Regions from separate parts of the Homo sapiens genome. Here regions 2, 3, 4, 5 and 6 are each linked to region 1. Evidence: promoter capture Hi-C in 16 types of primary human blood cells and fetal thymus (Javierre and others, 2016). All regions are on one chromosome and are shown on one strand. Each heading gives the region's core, a stretch centred on a gene start or on the middle of the fragment in contact. The rest is flanking DNA. Distances are from core to core; before and after follow the strand shown. Region 1 holds the start of PUS3 (pseudouridine synthase 3). Region 2 holds the start of FEZ1 (fasciculation and elongation protein zeta 1). Region 3 overlaps FAM118B (family with sequence similarity 118 member B). Region 4 has its middle 13 kb from the start of RPUSD4. Region 5 overlaps FAM118B (family with sequence similarity 118 member B). Region 6 has its middle 18 kb from the start of FEZ1.

What was found. Contacts are between HindIII fragments. The CHiCAGO score rates a contact against its expected background, and 5 or more counts as called.
Region 2: the fragment with the promoter of FEZ1 here is called in contact with the fragment with the promoter of PUS3 in region 1 in 1 of 17 cell types (total CD8 T cells); the score reaches 6.0 in total CD8 T cells.
Region 3: a fragment that was not itself captured here is called in contact with the fragment with the promoter of PUS3 in region 1 in 4 of 17 cell types (activated CD4 T cells, non-activated CD4 T cells, naive CD4 T cells and 1 more); the score reaches 5.6 in activated CD4 T cells.
Region 4: a contact is called between a fragment that was not itself captured here and the fragment with the promoter of PUS3 in region 1, in 15 of 17 cell types (naive CD4 T cells, endothelial precursors, fetal thymus and 12 more). The highest score is 18.5, in naive CD4 T cells.
Region 5: a fragment that was not itself captured here is called in contact with the fragment with the promoter of PUS3 in region 1 in 7 of 17 cell types (fetal thymus, naive CD4 T cells, non-activated CD4 T cells and 4 more); the score reaches 10.0 in fetal thymus.
Region 6: a contact is called between a fragment that was not itself captured here and the fragment with the promoter of PUS3 in region 1, in 1 of 17 cell types (total CD8 T cells). The highest score is 5.1, in total CD8 T cells.

What each region holds. Positions count from the first base shown.
Region 1 is chr11:125,901,889-125,904,588 of GRCh38, forward strand. It overlaps PUS3 (pseudouridine synthase 3), which reads right to left and starts at 1,318. Exons shown (of 4, transcript NM_031307.4): 1 at 1,282-1,318. DDX25 (DEAD-box helicase 25) reads left to right here and starts at 2,620. Exons shown (of 12, transcript NM_013264.5): 1 at 2,620-2,692. The coding sequence starts at 2,630. The HindIII fragment of the contact is 3,679 bases long and covers 1-2,030 here.
Region 2 is chr11:125,494,833-125,497,532 of GRCh38, forward strand. It overlaps FEZ1 (fasciculation and elongation protein zeta 1), which reads right to left and starts at 1,433. Exons shown (of 10, transcript NM_005103.5): 1 at 1,289-1,433. It overlaps LOC403312 (putative uncharacterized protein MGC39545), which reads left to right and starts at 382. Exons shown (of 2, transcript NR_164146.1): 1 at 382-783; 2 at 1,676-2,700. RefSeq lists enhancers at 491-994, 995-1,496 and a silencer at 1,371-1,620. The HindIII fragment of the contact is 4,219 bases long and covers 1-2,700 here.
Region 3 is chr11:126,232,863-126,235,562 of GRCh38, forward strand. It overlaps FAM118B (family with sequence similarity 118 member B), which reads left to right. Exons shown (of 9, transcript NM_024556.4): 3 at 2,133-2,225. The coding sequence starts at 2,140. Among named protein-coding and RNA genes, the nearest start is that of FAM118B, 22 kb to the left of the region's middle. The HindIII fragment of the contact is 4,780 bases long and covers 1-2,700 here.
Region 4 is chr11:126,196,955-126,199,654 of GRCh38, forward strand. No RefSeq gene overlaps it. Among named protein-coding and RNA genes, the nearest start is that of RPUSD4, 13 kb to the right of the region's middle. The HindIII fragment of the contact is 5,671 bases long and covers 1-2,700 here.
Region 5 is chr11:126,258,360-126,261,059 of GRCh38, forward strand. All of the region lies in intron 7 of FAM118B (family with sequence similarity 118 member B), which reads left to right. It also overlaps a transcript of SRPRA not described here. Among named protein-coding and RNA genes, the nearest start is that of SRPRA, 9.2 kb to the right of the region's middle. The HindIII fragment of the contact is 5,808 bases long and covers 1-2,700 here.
Region 6 is chr11:125,512,455-125,515,154 of GRCh38, forward strand. No RefSeq gene overlaps it. Among named protein-coding and RNA genes, the nearest start is that of FEZ1, 18 kb to the left of the region's middle. The HindIII fragment of the contact is 286 bases long and covers 1,269-1,554 here.

The sequences.
Region 1 (2,700 bases), core at 68-2,567:
AAAGATCAAAACCTAACGAGTAGTGGGATTAAAGGTAATTTGTATTTATACCTCGACTTTTTATGAGGTCAAAAATTACATGGTGATTTTAACATGCAAAACACTCCAGTGATTATTTGGATCTCAAAGTCCAACATTACCAAAGTCTCCAAAGTTCAACTCCCGTGCTAACTAAAGAACTAGGCCAGGGAGTGAGTCTAGTTGGTCATAAGGCAGATTTGTGGCAAAAACAGGACTTGGTACACTACAGTGCTTTTTCCAGCACACCTTACCCTAATTCAGGGTGAAGTGCAGGAGTTCCCAAGCAGACGTTTAAAGTAACACCCTGGCCAGGGCTGCGAAGTAACCACAGAGAGGGAATTCGTGTGTCCCCTAAGCACCAATTACAAACTAAAACGGCCATCACCAGATGTTCCATACATTGGGCCAGGCGCCGTGGCTCACGCCTGTCATCCCAACATTTTGAGAGGCCAAGACGGGGTGGTGGCGGGGGGGAGGGGGGGTCGCTCGAAGTCAGGAGTTCGAGACCAACCTGGGCAACACAGCGAGACCGTGTGTTAATTAAAAAATTAAAAACTAGGCTGCCAAGATGGCGCACGCCTGCAGTCCCAGCTAGTTGGAGGCTGAGGTGGAAGGATCGCTTGAGCCCAGGAGGTAGAGGCTGCAGTGAGCAGTGATCACGCCACTTCACTCAGCCTGGGCGACAGTCTTAAAAAAAAAAAAAAAAAAGTCCTAATCTCAGGAACCAGTGGGTTAACACATAAATAGCATTCCTCTTGATAAACTTTATATTAATCCAAAGGGAAGAAGAGGGAGTACTGTCCAAAGGATTAGCAGACACGCACTATGATCACTAGAAAGCAATCGTGGTCTGTATGTAAGGCAATCCCCAAAATAATTTGAAAATTGCTGCCACAGCCTCCCACATACTCCTGGGTTCTCAACTTCTACTGTTTTATGAGCACCCAATTCTAAGTGGGGCAGCAGAGCACTTTTGTACTCCACAGTACAAGTACCACTGAAGCTCCCGTCACAACGGAATTAAAGACGACCCTACTGCGGCGAGTTTCCACCGAGAGCTCCAGAAAGTACCAGGCACAAAAGAAAAATACATGGTCTTAAGCGAGGTCTCATTTCCATACGGCAATGCTTTCCTGAAAAGACCAAAGTATGTGAAAGAGGGCAAAAAGAAGACAACAGACAACCGTTCAGCAGTGTGTCCATTTGTCCCTTCCCCTGTGGAACCCAGAAAGTAACCCACTCCAAAAATCCCACACTTACTTTCCGGCAGCCGGCCGCGCCGCGTTTCCGAGAAAGGAAGCTGTCACTGTGCGTCTTCTGCGCAGGCGCCCGAGCCCTCATGGGAGGTGTAGTCCAAGTTTGTGGGAAATGTAGTTCTGAGAACCGAGCTTGGTGCTAGAATCTACCTGAGGTTTTCTAGTCCAGCTACCGTTTCTCCGCCCACAGGGCAGAATCTGGGCCTGTGGCGGGACAGCAATAAAAGGAGGAATTGTAGTGCTACGCTAAAATAATAGAAAAAAGGTAATTTTTCAAATTCTGCTATCCTTATACGAAAACTAAAAGATTGAAGATCTTGGCTCGATTTTATACCTAGTTAAATGAGAAGAAAGTTACCATTGAGAGACAAAAACATTTACTATTAGAATTCAAATTAAAAGCTGAAATGAATATGATAATCTCAAAACAAACGACTAGGTGCCCTGAGAGTGACCGAACAGAGCGGGGAGCGTTGCTTCAGCACCACGGAGAGATCATGACTGCAGTTTCGTGTGGGTTTTTGTATTTTTGCCCCCAATTCCAGAAATGCTGATCAAAATCTCAAAATTACAATTAGAAAACTGGGGGGCGGGGGGGAGGTGGAATTTGGTTCTTTCGTCCAAATTGAGCGGTCATTAAATCATTAGTACCAGGGATCCAGGGATCTATACCGGATTATGCAAACGCATGTAGGACGTAGAGGTTATACCGAAAGGTAATGTTTTTAACAAGAGACCACATTTCAGAATAAAAGCTTTAAAAAGCCTATGTGGAACATCACAGGTATCTAGGGCAGGAACAGCAGTTAGAGCTTGAACAGTTCTGCTTCCTTTCCGCAACTGTGGCATTCGAGGTCATTCGTCATATCAAATTCATCAGATTTTGTCTCCACTTTGCTAACCAATTCGCTAACCTTTCTGACATCTTGTGATGTGGAGGCGGAAATTTCCAGGGAAACCGACACGGGGCGTAAAGCGCGGCGGGGAGTCCGGGGGGCTCCCGCCTGGAGGGCTGTGTGAGCGGCGGGCCGCGGGGCGGCGCGGGGGGCGCTCTCCACTCTGCGGAAGCTGCCCCCTCTGCCCTCCGGTCCGCGCCCTTTCGCCCCGCTCTCTGCCCTCCGCCCCGCTCTCTGCCCTCCGCCCCGCTCTCTGCCCCCCGCCCCGCTCTCTGCCCTCCGCCCCTTCCGCGCGCCACCCAGCCTTCCAGCGCCTGCGCGCCGCACCGCGGTGGTCGCGGGCGCGGACGCGGACGCCTGCCCCCTAAGGAAGCCCATTGGCCAGCGGATGGGGCCAGCACCGCCTCGCGCCGGTGGTGGAAGCACGTGCTGGGGGCGGGAGCAGCAATCGCAGCCATGGCGTCGTTACTGTGGGGAGGCGACGCAGGGGCGGCGGAGAGCGAGCGGCTGAACAGCCACGTAACCGC
Region 2 (2,700 bases), core at 183-2,682, 410 kb before region 1:
CCGAGTGGAGCGGAGCGGTGGAGATTTCACCACGCTAACCCCGCTGGGCCTCGGCACCTCCACACAAGCCCCATTCCATCTCCTTCTTCCCATCACTTGGTCCATAGATCAACTGATTCCGTGCCTCGTCCCCCATATCCGTCCCTAAAACCTACCCTGCACTGATCCACCTTCAGATTTCCCACTGCTCCTCCGCAGAACCCACCCAGTGTGCATGTTTGTGCACATTTTGACAGAAAAAGTATTTCGTTGCATATGGATCAGCAACCCCTTCGCGGTTCTGCTTGCTCCCCTCCCCCTCCTCCCGCTGCTCCATTCACCTCCATCTCAGATCCCCCTCCTCCCCCCAGTCCGGTGGGGTAAAGAAAGCCTCCTCCAGGCAGCACAATGGCTGGCACTCTGAGGAAGCCGGACTCATCCCGTGCAGGCCGCATACACACTCCACTGCCCTTCCGGCCAAACAAGCCCGGACACGGGAGAGGGATGAGAGTCGGGGATGCCTAGCGGCGAGGAGAGAAGGGATAGGCAAAAGGGAAGAAGAGCGGGCTGTGATACCTCCTCGACGCCGTCAAACACTGCTCCCCGCATTCCAGAGCCCGGGGCCCACCCGACGGCAGCGCGCCCCGCCACCGCGCAGCCGCCCCGGTCCCTTCTCCCGCCCGTCTGTAGTAAAACAATCGCTCTCCCGGCGTCTGCGGCCGCTGCCAGCGGTTCTGACACTGCAGGAATGCGCGGTCTGGGGAAGGCTCCGCACTCTGGGGAGGGGCACGAGCGGGGTCGGGGGTAAGTTTTTAGGGACAAAGATGATCTTGGGGCGTTTACGGTGACTGGACCAGATAACGGTCCCGGGACGAGGTACCGACCCACTGCCCCAGCGCGATCGGGCGGCGTTCCCTTCTTCCCCCAGCCCCCATACCTCGCCGCCCTGCCTTCACACGCGCGCACACACGCGGGCACACACACGCGGACACACACACACACACACACACACACACACACACACCAGGCCTGGCTGGAGGGCCGATGCTGAGATGATACTGGAAGTGCCCATCATCCCACATCTCCAGGGCCTGGCGCGGCGTCCCAGCTGCGCTCCCTGAAGGGCTGGGCAGGAAGGCGACGGCCTCCCGTTGTTCCTTTCTAATCCCAGAATGGGACCAGGTGAGGGGAGCTGCGGCGACCCCAGACCGTCCTGTCAGAGAATCCCGGGGCCTCCTTACCACCCCCACCAGACCCCACCCCCAGCAGTGAGTCGGGTCCTAACTAAAGTCAACCCCCGCGACGGCACCTGTGCGGGTCCTGGCGGAGGGAGGCGGATCCCGGGGCTCAGCCGGACACCCCCATCCACGGGCCGCGGGAGCGGCCGGAGCGCAGCGCAGCGCAGCGGAGAGCCAGCCAGCCAGCCAGCCAGCGAGCGCTCCCCGCGCAGCTCCGGCGGCGCCCGGCTCCGCTCCCGCCTCCACCCCACCCCTTCCCCGCGCTCGTGCCCGGGCTCCGGGGGCGCGCCCGCGCTCGGGCACCCACCCAACTGGCACGCGCGGGAGCTGGACGTCATCCCCTCGTTAACATTCATAGCCTTCCTCCGAGCACGTGGGCTTGCCTTTATTAATATTTATGCATTTCTGTTTCTCTCCTCTTTAACATTGGCCTTTCTGCTTCCCTCATGAATATTCAGAAACTCCAAGATGAAAGCGTGCAATAACTACCAATATGGATACCTCGCAAAGCCTGACACTAGTTTCTGGATAAAATGCAGGCGATGGCTGCTGGCGGATGCCGGCAGACACACTCAAAGACCCTTTTGGACTTTCCGAGTTTCCCATTCTCCTCTACTGGAGGCTGAGGCGGGCAGGCCCAGCGACGTCTCCCAGCTCCAACTGGGTTCGGACCTCAAGCCAAAAATGAGGAGGCCGGCAGGAGAGCTTTTCTCGCCCAAAGATGCTGGGTGGGAGCTGGATCCAGCTGAAAAATCTGAGTGAGAAGGTTTCAGGCCCAGGAGGACTTGAGATAATACAGGAAAATTCAAGAGGCTGAAATGAGAAGGGTCCCTGGAGTCTTGTGAAAAATTATTAATTTATCTTGTCTACTGTGCATAGGCCTGTGCTTATAGAAGTTGTCAATAAAAAATCTAATAATTCACGAATACACACAACTAAGAGCACAAGAACTGTAATTATCGAAGGAAGGCACTGGAAAAAGCATGTCGGCTTGGAGAACCCCAAGTACTTTTGTCTGATGGCAAAGTACCTCTGGGCTGAACTGAGGACTTCAACTGGAAGGGGCAGGGAGCGTCTCTTTTGCTCGTTTATGCATTCATTCCACAGACATTTCAACCATGAGAAGGATGGAAACAGGAATAATGTCCCAATGAGATGAGAAGAAGCGTTGGCCTATTTGCCTTTGTGGGAGCAATAGACAGAGGATGTCTTCCTGTAAGAAATCATAAGGCCAGGCACGGTGGCTCACACCTATAATCCCAACATGTTGGAAAGCTGAGGCAGGAGGATCACTTGAGGCCAGGAGTTCAAGACCAGCCTAGGCAACATAGTGAGACCCCATCTCTATAAAAAAAAAAAAATTAGCCAGGCATGGTGGGCCCATCCTGGTAGCCCATCCTGGTAGCCCCAGCTACACTGGAGGATGAGGTGGGAGGATCGCTTGAGCCCAAGAGGTTGAAGCTGCACTCCAGCCTGGGCGACA
Region 3 (2,700 bases), core at 5-2,504, 330 kb after region 1:
AGTCACATAAGTTAAAACTTCATAAAAATATTTTAAGGACACTTAAAACCTGGCTATTGTTATAAGCAAACTGGGAAGTCGTTAGACTGTAATAAGTTATTACACTTAAGGGAAGATGGCTTAATGGTATACTTCATGTGCATCCTATATTTAACAAAATTGTTGCATTGTAGAAAAATTAAGTTTGCATCTTATTTAGGTGTTTCCTATTTGAAGGAAGATTCTGGAGAATCTGATTCTGTAATTTTGGAGTAGAGCCTAGAAACAAACTTTTTTAATTTAATGAATTAACTTTATTTTCAAGAATATATATACTTTTAACAAACATCCCAGCTGGGTGCGGTGGCTCACACCTGTAATCCCAACACTTTGGGAGGCTGAGGCGGGCGGATCACCTGAGGTCAGGAGTTCGAGACCAGCCTGATCAACATGAAGAAATTCTGTCTCTACTAAAAATACAAAATTAGCTGGGCATAGTGGCGCATGCCTGTAATCCCAGCTACTCAGGAGGCTGAGGCAGGAGGATTGCTTGAAGGGAGCAACTGCCAGGAGGCGGAGGTTGCAGTGAGCCGAGATTGCGCCAGTGCACTCCAGGCTGGGCAACAAGAGCAAAACTCTGTCTCAAAAACAAAACAAAACAAAAAACCCAGAAAAACCTACATGGTTGTGTTAAGGCAGGATTTACTGAGATAAGTGACTCATCTGTCTTCTCCTGAGCCCCAGCTTTCTCACCAACAGAATCAAAGATTTGACTGGAAACATGATCTACTTCCTAACTCACTACTGTGACTGTATTATTTCTATTTACCTTATGATTATGATATAAAGAAGAATTACACTGCGTGTGATGGACTATGGGGTGAGGATGTGAGCCTTCTGTTTACCACAAAAAATTAATTCAGAAACTTAGTGTTTTAATAAAGAAAAAGGCTTTTTTGGGCTGGGTGCAGTGGCTCATGCCTGTAATCCCAACATTTTGGGAGGCCAAGGCTGGAAGATTACTTGAGCTCAGGAGTTAGAGACCAGCTGGGCAACATGGCAAAACCCCCTCTCTACAAACAGTACAAAATTCCACCAGATGTGGTAGCATGTGCCTGTAGTCCCAGGTGATGGAGAGGCTGAGGTGGGTTGATCGCTTGAGCCCAGGAGGCCGAGACTGCAGTGAGCCAAGATGGCGCCACTGTACTCTAGCCTGGACAACAGAGCAAGACCCAGTCTCAAAAAAAGAAAAGAAAAGGGCTTTCTAATAAAACAGTAAACTTGCAGTAATTATTAGTAATTCAGTTCTATATGTTGCCAGTGGAATGTACTAAAACACCCCAAACGGTGGTAGTATGTATTGTCTTCTATATTGTGTGTGTGTTTAAAATACTATTACTATTTTTAAATTCACAGTCTTTAGATTTAACAAGTTTGCCAAAGTTTGAGCACTTAGAACTTTATAGTATTCATTCTAATCCATGGTAATTATTTACTTTTGCCAGTTATTCCAGCACCCGAACATAATTGGCCATTTTTCATACATCTTTGCTTGATGATACATTTACCAGTCATCACAGTGGCTTGATTTGAAGTCCACTTCATGTTTAGTTAGAGAGACATGCCCCACTGGCTACAAGGTCACCATCGTCCAACAACAGAGAATGTCATTCAGCAAATTAGTATTGATTGTTCTGTTCTTGACTCAGTAATTTCTTCAGCTGAGAGTAAATGGGTAATTGGGGGCTATTAATACACTTATCTATGGGTGGTTTTTATCCCCTGAGTCTTCCGCAAACCCATCTTGTGGGAGAATAACTGGTTTTTCTTAAGTTCTACAAAGTGATGGCCAGTAATTGACATGAGTTGACACTGTTTTTGGTGGGAACTTGGGGGCAGGCCTTCAGAAACAGAAGCAAGATGGTAGTATGGAGCACCAAAGTCCTATAATTTCCAGATTACTTCTTTTAGACTAATTTAATTTAGCTCCTTGTTTAGAATGTTCATTAATTAACAAATTTCTGTTAAGTAGGGGGCACCTCCAAAACACCTTTAAGGGTATACAGCTTTTTTAAACTGTTTAATATATGTGCTATTTTGAATAGTATACTTTACAGATCTAATTGTGGTTCATGGTGTTTAATCTATTTTAGAAACTGGATGGCTTCTACAGGGAGCCAGGCCTCTGATATAGACGAGATTTTTGGATTCTTCAACGATGGCGAACCTCCCACCAAAAAGCCCAGGTAAACAAGAGAAGGGAATCAGCAGAGTAAATTACCATTAGTGGGAGAGAAAGAAAAATAGCCAACTTATACCTTCTATATCAGTTGTTTTCACTAATTAGTATTGACCTTCATACTCAAAATTAAATTGTTTTTATTTTGGGTTTAATTTTTATTTTTTATCAAGGCAGTACAGGTACATAGTTTTTAAAATCAGTATTTCAAAGTCCGCCCTTCCTCAGAGATAATCACTTTCAACTTTACCTGTTTCTTCTAATGTTGACATCCATGTTTGAAAATACTATATATATTGCTGCTTTTTAGTTTTTTGGTTTTATTGATTTCTGAGTATGGAATATAAGGACTGCTTTGCTCTCATGACTCCTCCCTCTGTATTGCCACTCCACACACTCTCCCCATGTTCTTGTATGTTTGTGTCACAGTGTTTGGTTCAATCCACTTTTTTTTTTGAGACAGAGTCTTGCTGTGTCGCCCA
Region 4 (2,700 bases), core at 104-2,603, 300 kb after region 1:
CACAACCAACAGGGGCATCTATGCAGACAGCCACCTAGGCTGGTCACTCGCTGGGGGACAGCAAGATGAAGGGATCCCTAAGAGAGGACATCAAGAGACGCCTAAGGGAGTGGGGGATGGAGAGGAAAACTCAGAGTTCTATAATAATTTGCCTTGCTTTCGTCCTTGGTTCCTGGGAGAGAGAACCTAAATCCTTGGAATTTCCCAAGTGATGTTAACATTTTTTGTTATTCATGATGAGCCCTAATAGTTTACGCTATTAAATGTGAGGACTCACGGTGGGGCTTTAGTTTCAGGATGGGTAGTTTCAGGCTGGCCATGCAAAAAGACCGACCATGTGATTAGAGGGTTGGCACTTTGAACCCAGCAGAACCGAGTTCAACAATGTAGCCAATTGTTCAACCACGACAACATAATGAAACCCCAATAAAAACTCTGGACACCAGGGCTTGGGTGACATTCCTGGCTGGTGATGCACATCCATGTGTTGGGAGGGTGACACGGTGGGCAGAGGACACGGTAGCTTCATGCTGGAGACTCTCCCAGACCTTGCCCATGCATCTCTTCTTTTAGCTGGTCCTGATTCATATCATTTTATTGCTACAGCAAAACCATAATAGTAAGCATAGCTAGTGCTTTGCTGAGTTCTGGGAGTCATTCTAGTGAATGATCAAACCTGAGGGGTTTGTGAACACTCTTGAATTCATAGCTAGTTGGTCAGAAGTACAGGTGGCTGGAAAACCCCAGAGCTTGCAGCTGGTGTCTGAAGTGAGGCAAGTCCTGTGGAATGTGCCATTAACTTGTGACATCTGGCCTAACGCTGGGTAGCTGGTGTTTGAATTACATTGCCCTGAGCCAGCAGATTTTGCTCCGCACTGGGAGAAGCTGTCTGCACCCACATGGCATGCTTTGCACAAGCACAAGCAGGAGGCCATGTTTTTGTATATCCTACCAGGCACTCTGGCTAAAAGCAGTCCAGAGAGCCAAGGAGAGCAGACCTAGAAAACATGGTGGGAGGCTGCTCTATTTGCCTGTCTTGTTTAAAACAGGTACCCCCTCCCACACTGCTCTATCCCCAGGAACCTGGGGATGGTCTCAACACCCCGTTGTGAGTTTGGTTTCTGGTGGGAACTAGCAGGTTGCCTATGATCCTATTTCTAACCCACTATGCCCTTCCACCTCCCAGACCTATCCCATCATAGCTGAAGGGTGGGGACGGTGAAATTGGTGCTCAGGAGATATTAGAATTAAAGAGGGAAGTGCATTTTAAGAGAAGGGTTTTAGATGGAACTGGCAAAGAATTAGTGGCTAATTGGATTTGGGGACTGGTGCGAGGGAGGAGTTAAGGGTGATTCCCAGGTCTCTGGTGATGCCATCTAAACTAAGGCAGGTAAGAGGACAGGAGCAACAGGCCCGGAGAGGGAGCTCCCAAGGGGAGACGATCACAGGCAGATGGATGTGAAGATAAGGAGCTCAAGGGGGAGATCAAGGTCAGAGACAGACTAGCGAGTCGTCAGCACACAGGTAGAGGCTTCCCAAGTTGGCCCAGCTCTCCCTCTGGGAGAGGGGCAGGATGCCAAGATGGAGCTCTGGGGGGCACCATGCTGGGGCCCTTCAAGGAGCCTGGAAGGAGGTCAGACAAGGAGATGCAGGAGGAGTTCATGGAATCAAAGCGAGTGAGGAGCTCAGAGTGGGCAATTCGGTTATCAAATGCAAAGACGTGTGATACGAGGATTGAGAAAGTGCTCTGTGGGCTTATTAGGTTGGGCATGCCTAGCACAGAAAAAAACCAGCTACCCAAAAGCTGCCTCCTGGAGCAGAAGAGCCAGTGCTGCCACCAGAAGGGGCACTGGGAGAGCCGGCCTCCCCCCTCTGCTGAGCACAAGCACCTCCCAGAGCTCACAGCAAACAAAATCCCTACGTGGGCAAGGAGCTGCTGCTTTTCATGGCAAGCCTTTAGTTCTTGATTTTTCATTTTGATTTTTTCTTATTCTTTTTTTAACCAGAGTCATTTGAGCAGAATAGTTCTTGATTTTTTAAATCATGTGCACATAGAACTTTGATAAAAATAGAAATTTAAGAAGCCCATTTTCTTATACTAATTACTGTATATGACTTAACACTAAATCATATCTTTTAGCTGGCTCTAATCAGTATTTCAAAATAGATGCAGTTCATTTTAGGCACATTCCAACCTCCTTTGCTGTGTAACCCATTTCTCAGGCCACACTAACCTGGGGTAAAATTCCTCTTATATTATTGTCAGTAATTAAAGATAGCCACTGGGCCAGGCACGGCGGCTCATGCCTGTAATCCCAGCACTTTAGGAGGCTGAGGCAGGTGGATCACCTGAGGTTGTGAGTTTGAGACCAGCCTGACCAACATGGAGAAACCCCATCTCTACTAAAAATACAAAATTAGCCGGGCATGGTGGCACATGCCTGTAATCCCAGCTACTCGGGAGGCTGAGGCAGGAGAATCGCTTAAACTCGGGAGGCAGAGGTTGTGGGGAGTGGAGATCACGCCATTGCACTCCAGCCTGGGCAACAAGAGTGAAATTCTGTCTCAAAAAAAAAAAAAAAAAAAAAAAAAAGATAGCCACTGTACCTAGCAAGACCTGCTGCTCAGGCAGTCCAGATCCCACTAAGAATCAGAGAAATGTTAATCCTTTCTTTAGGCCTAAGAAAACACAGAAAAGGA
Region 5 (2,700 bases), core at 28-2,527, 360 kb after region 1:
CTGAGCAATAAAGCAAGACGCTGTTTCTAAAATAAATAACATACAGGTAATTTAATAAACATAAAGCAGTTTTCCTAAATCAAATCATCCCCAGATTTCTTAACTGAATCAGATGGCTTCAAGTAGAATTCTCCTGTAATGAAAAATTACACAGCTTCTTCCATGGCTATGCTTTGATGGAACCAGACTTTTAAAAGCCATCACCACATGAACAAGTCTCATTTGTGAAAACTATTTACTATTCTTTGTTGGAAATGAGTTTTTCTGGTGTCCTGCAGTGTTCTAGACTCTCCTGCTGTTGTTTGCCCACACTTGAGACTTTGAGAAGGCTTTTCTGTTGCACATGTTGTTTTCATTAACAAGACATACATATCCAAGTTCTACATATTTCTTTTGATCTATATGCTGAGGAAAGATGCTAAAGTTTAAAACAGCAAAATCCGTCTGCATAACTGTTTCTGTTGCACTAAATCTTAGCAAAAAATAAATATGTCTTTAGACTGTTGCATTACATAACAAAGAAGCAGTAAGGTTCCTTAGTGCACTAAGATTGCTCTAAGGAACCTTAACTGCTATTGTGGAATGGCACAAATTCTTTTATTAGCTGTGTAGGCTTCCTACCAGAGTAGCTTTCCCCGAAGTTACCCATCATTAAGGTGTTCTGTATCTTTAAACAAAATCAAGGATTTTCAGTATGGCCAGAGTGCTTTATGGGAATGGTCAGCTGAGTTTGTCATGTGAAATGTAGTAGAGCAGTTTCAGGTTAAAACATCATTTCATTTTGAAACGAGTCAACCTTATCTTTCACCCTTGCATAATGTTTTGAGTCTCTGTAGATATAGACTAATGAGAGGTTACAGGTCTTTTGCTGTTATTTTGTTTTTTAACACTGAACCTTTGCTATGTGCCTGGCATTGTGCTGTATACTCACTTTTGCATAGTGGAAATTAATTGTCTTCAAAGGATTCTATAGTATGTAGTTACACATATTTTGGAAAAATCAAGCAGTGGGAAAAAGAAAAATAATTCTTATAATCCATTACCATACAAGCAGTCGTTGTGGTACTTTTTTTTTTTTTTTTTTTGAGATGGAGTCTCGCTCTGACGCCAGGCTGGAGTGCAGTGGCACAATCTCGGCTCACTGCAACCCCCGCCTCCTGGGTTCAAGTGATTCTCCTGCCTCAGCCTCCTGAGTGGCTGGAACTATAGGCGCCCACCACCATGCCCGGCTAATTTTTTGTATTTTTAGTAGAGATGGGGTTTCACCATGTTGGCCAGGATGGTCTCGGTCTCCTGACCTCATGATCCACCCGCCCTGGCCTCCCAAAGTGCTGGGATTACAGGCGTGAGCCACCATGCCCGGGCCTATTTATTGATTTGAGATGGAGTTTCTCTCTGTCACCCAGGCTAGAGTGCAGTGGCGCAATCTCAGCTCACTGCAAGCTCTGCCTCCTGGGTTCACGCCATTCTCCTGCCTCAGTCTCCCGAGTAGCTGGGACTAAAGGCGCCCGCCACCACACCCGGCTAATTTTTTGTATTTTTAGTAGATACAGCGTTTCACTGTGTTAGCCAGGATGGTCTCGATCTCCTGACCTCGTGATCCACCCACCTCAGCCTCCCAAAGTGCTGGGATTACAGGCGTGAGCCACTGTGCCAGCTTTATTTTTATTTTATTATTATTACTATTTTTGATACAGGGTCTTGCTTTTTCACCCAGGCTGCAGTACAATGGCACAGTCATGGCTCACCACAGCCTTGACCTCCCCGGGCTCAGGCGATCCTCCCACCTCAGCCTCCCGAGTAGCTGAGACTAAAGGCACATACCACAATGCCCAGCTAATTTTTGTATTTTTTGTAGAGATGGGGTTTCGCCATGTTGCCCAGGCTGTTCTCAGTCTCCTAAGTGCAAGCAATCCTCCCACCTCAGCTTCCCAAAGTTCTGGGATTATAGGTGTGAGCCACAGCACCTGGCCTTGGCACATTTCTGATGAAGTTTTCCCTGTGCTTTTTTTCATAGTTGTAAACAAAATATAGTGATTTTTTTTTTTTTTTGGTCCTTTGAAAATTCAGTAGTGGATTGTACATTTTCCCACATCCCTATCTTCATAACCACTATTTTAATTGACTTTTATATTCCAGTAGGGGTGTTACAGTTTACCTAATTATTCCTGTTAGGCAACGTCTGATATTTTTTTTGCCAGTTTTTTGTAAGTCATGTTGTGAAAATAACATCTGTATCTCTTCAGTTTTTCCAGTAATTTCCTTGATGAGTTCTCACTGTAATCAGGTCAAAGATCAGGAACATTTCAGTAATTTATAAATACTGCTAAATTGTTTTCTACGAGGGTAATATCAATTTGTATATTTGAGTACCATGCCTGTTTATACTGTAATTGACCATATTTCTAATGACTATTTTCTTCCATGTGTTCAGCTTTTTACTTTTTCTGAACTATTATCTATGCCAAGTGTTATCCAGTAGAATTTCCTGCAGTCATAAAAATACTGTATAATCTTCACTGTCTAGTATCATAGTTAGGAGCCACATGTGGCTGGTGCACCGTTGAAATGTGGCCAGTGTGACTGAGGAATGGAATTTTTAATTTGAAACCAAGTAGCTGCATATGGCTAGTGCTACCGTATTTTATTTTGTGGGAGTATTCTGCTGCTTTTCACTCTTCTATTTGAAGTTGCTCACTC
Region 6 (2,700 bases), core at 162-2,661, 390 kb before region 1:
ATTCCTTTACCTGATCATATCACGTAGGCCATGAGGCCTGATAAATCATTAAATAAAACTTGATCAATACATACACACAAAAACGTGTTCACAAATGTACATAGCAGCTTTATTCATCATAACCAAAAAAGTTGAAACAACCTTTTGGGGGTCAGAAAATATGGCATTTTGAAATGCTGAGTACTTTGAACTAAAGAAGCAGCCTCTGGCAGAGTACAATGGCTCACACCTGTAATCCTAGCATTTTGGGAGGCCAAGGTGGGAAGAATTGTTTGAGCCCAGGAGCCTAAGACCAGCCTGGGCTACATAGTGAGATCCTGTCTCTACAAAAAAATTTAAAAATGGGCTGGACATGGTGGCACATGCCTGTGGTCCCAGCTACCTGGGGGGCTGAGGTGGGAGAATCACTTGAGCCTGGGAGGGTGAAGCTGCAGGGAGCTGTAATGGTGCCACTGCACTCCAGCCTGGGTGACAGAACAATATCCTGTCTCAAAAAAACAAACAACAACAAAAAACAACAACAACAAAAAAAAGCAAAACAAAATTTTTTAAAGGAAAGGGCCTCAGAACCAAGGTCTCTCTGACCTTTCCCTGCTTACTATGTCTTGATTCTCTTTTTCTCCCAAAGCATAGGGAAGCACTTTCTCTGACATTTCCTTTATCTGACTAAGAGAAATCCCTCCAGAAGAAATGAAGTGTCATGAACTCACTCCCTGGAATCTATATGATCTCTAAGAGAGGAGACTAAATGTCTCCACATCTAGGACATCATGCCCAGACAGACTTTTCACTTATGCTTCTGAGAGCTACCTGAGAGACTTCTTCTGCATAATAAGACAACCTTTGCTTGCAGTGCTCTTCCTCCCCTCACTCTCCCACAGCTTGTTGCCACCACCCTCCAGGAGTCTTTAAGCTTCTAATTCTTTTTTTTTTTTTTTTTTTTTTTGAGACAGGGTCTCACTCTGTTGTCTAGGTTGGGGTGCAGTGGGTGCAATTACAGCTCACTGTACTCACTGCAGCCTTGATCTCCCTGGTTCAAGTGATCCTCCTACCTCAGCCACCTGAGTAGCTGGAACTACAGGGGCATGCCACCACACCCAGCTAAGTTTTGCATTTTTGGTAGAGATAGGGTTTTGCCACATTGGCCAGGCTGATCTGGAACTACTGGGCTCAAGCCATCCTCCCACCTCAGCTTCCCAAAGTGCTAGGATTACAGGTGTGAGCCACTGTGCCAAGCTAATTTTTTCTGTAGCTCACAATGCTATTTAAGCTTCAACCATCTGGCCCTCCTTTGTGTCTCATATTTTGTGGAACTCCTATACATATGCATGTAATAAATTTGTATGCCTTTTCTCCTGTTAATCTGTCTACTGTCAAGTTTATTCCAGAGATTATCGAGCCTTTAAAGGGTGGAAGGAGAGTTCCTTTCACTCCTACAAACCCAAATGTCCATCAAGGGATAAATGGATAAACAAATTGTGGTATATCCATGCAATGAAATGTCATTCAGCCATAAAAAGAACAAAATACTGATACAATGCTACAACACAGATAAGCTTGAAAGCATTATGTTGAGTGAAAGACAGCAGACACAGAAAGGCACATGGTACGTAATTTCATGTACATGAAATGTCTACATAGTGTCAATTGAAGAAAATGATGAGACAAGTCTCAATCATTTTAGATTTATTTGCCAAAGTTAAGGACGCATCCTGGAGACAGGTCTATGCCTTTCTCTGAAGATGATTTTGAGGCTCCAAATTTAAGGGGGAAAGGGTGGGATATTGAGAAGCACACAGTTTTCACATAAGCAAAAGGGGCAAAGGAAAAATGTGGGGAATCTGCATTTTACATAAGATAACACAGACAAAATGGAGTAGGGGAAAAATCAGATATTCATTTGTGTCTGGCAGGCCTGCACCTGTAAAGATGACCTAACAATTTGCATTGCCATAGTGACGTTTTAACAGCTCACTGGGAATTTCCCCATATTTTGCCCACAAGGAAATTCCTGGTGAGCTGCTAAAACATCACTGTGGCATGCAAATTGATAGGTTATCTTTACAGGTACAGGCCTGCCAGACACAAATGCATATCTGATTTTTGACTTTTCCCTTTGGCTAAATGACTCTGGGGTCCCAAAATGTAATTTCTTTTCACAATAGAAACATAAAGTAGATTGGTGGTTGCCAGGGGCTGTGGAGAGTGACTGCTAACGGATGTGTGGTTTCTTTAGTTTGGCAGGGTGTGTGTGTGGCGGGGGGTGGGATGATGAAAATGCACTAAAATTAAATTGTGGTAGATAGTAAAAGGAAGTAGTTATGTGATTGTTGCACAACTCTGTGACTATACTAAAAGCCACTGAATTGTGTAGTTTAAAAGGGTGGCTGGTTGGGCGTGGTGGCTCACGCCTGTAATCTCAGCACTTTGGGAGGCCGAGGCAGGCGGATCACCTGAGGTCGGGAGTTCAAGACCAGCCTGACCAACACGGAGAAACTCTGTCTCTACTAAAAATACAAAATTAGCCAAATGGGGTGGCACATGCCTGTAATCCCAGCTATTTGGGAGGATGAGACAGGAGAATCACTTGAACCTGGGAGGCGGAGGTTGCAGTGAGCCAAGATTGCGCCATTGCACTCCAGCCTGGGCAACAAGAGCAAAACTCCATCTCAAAAAAAAAAAAAAAAAAAGTGTGGCTGG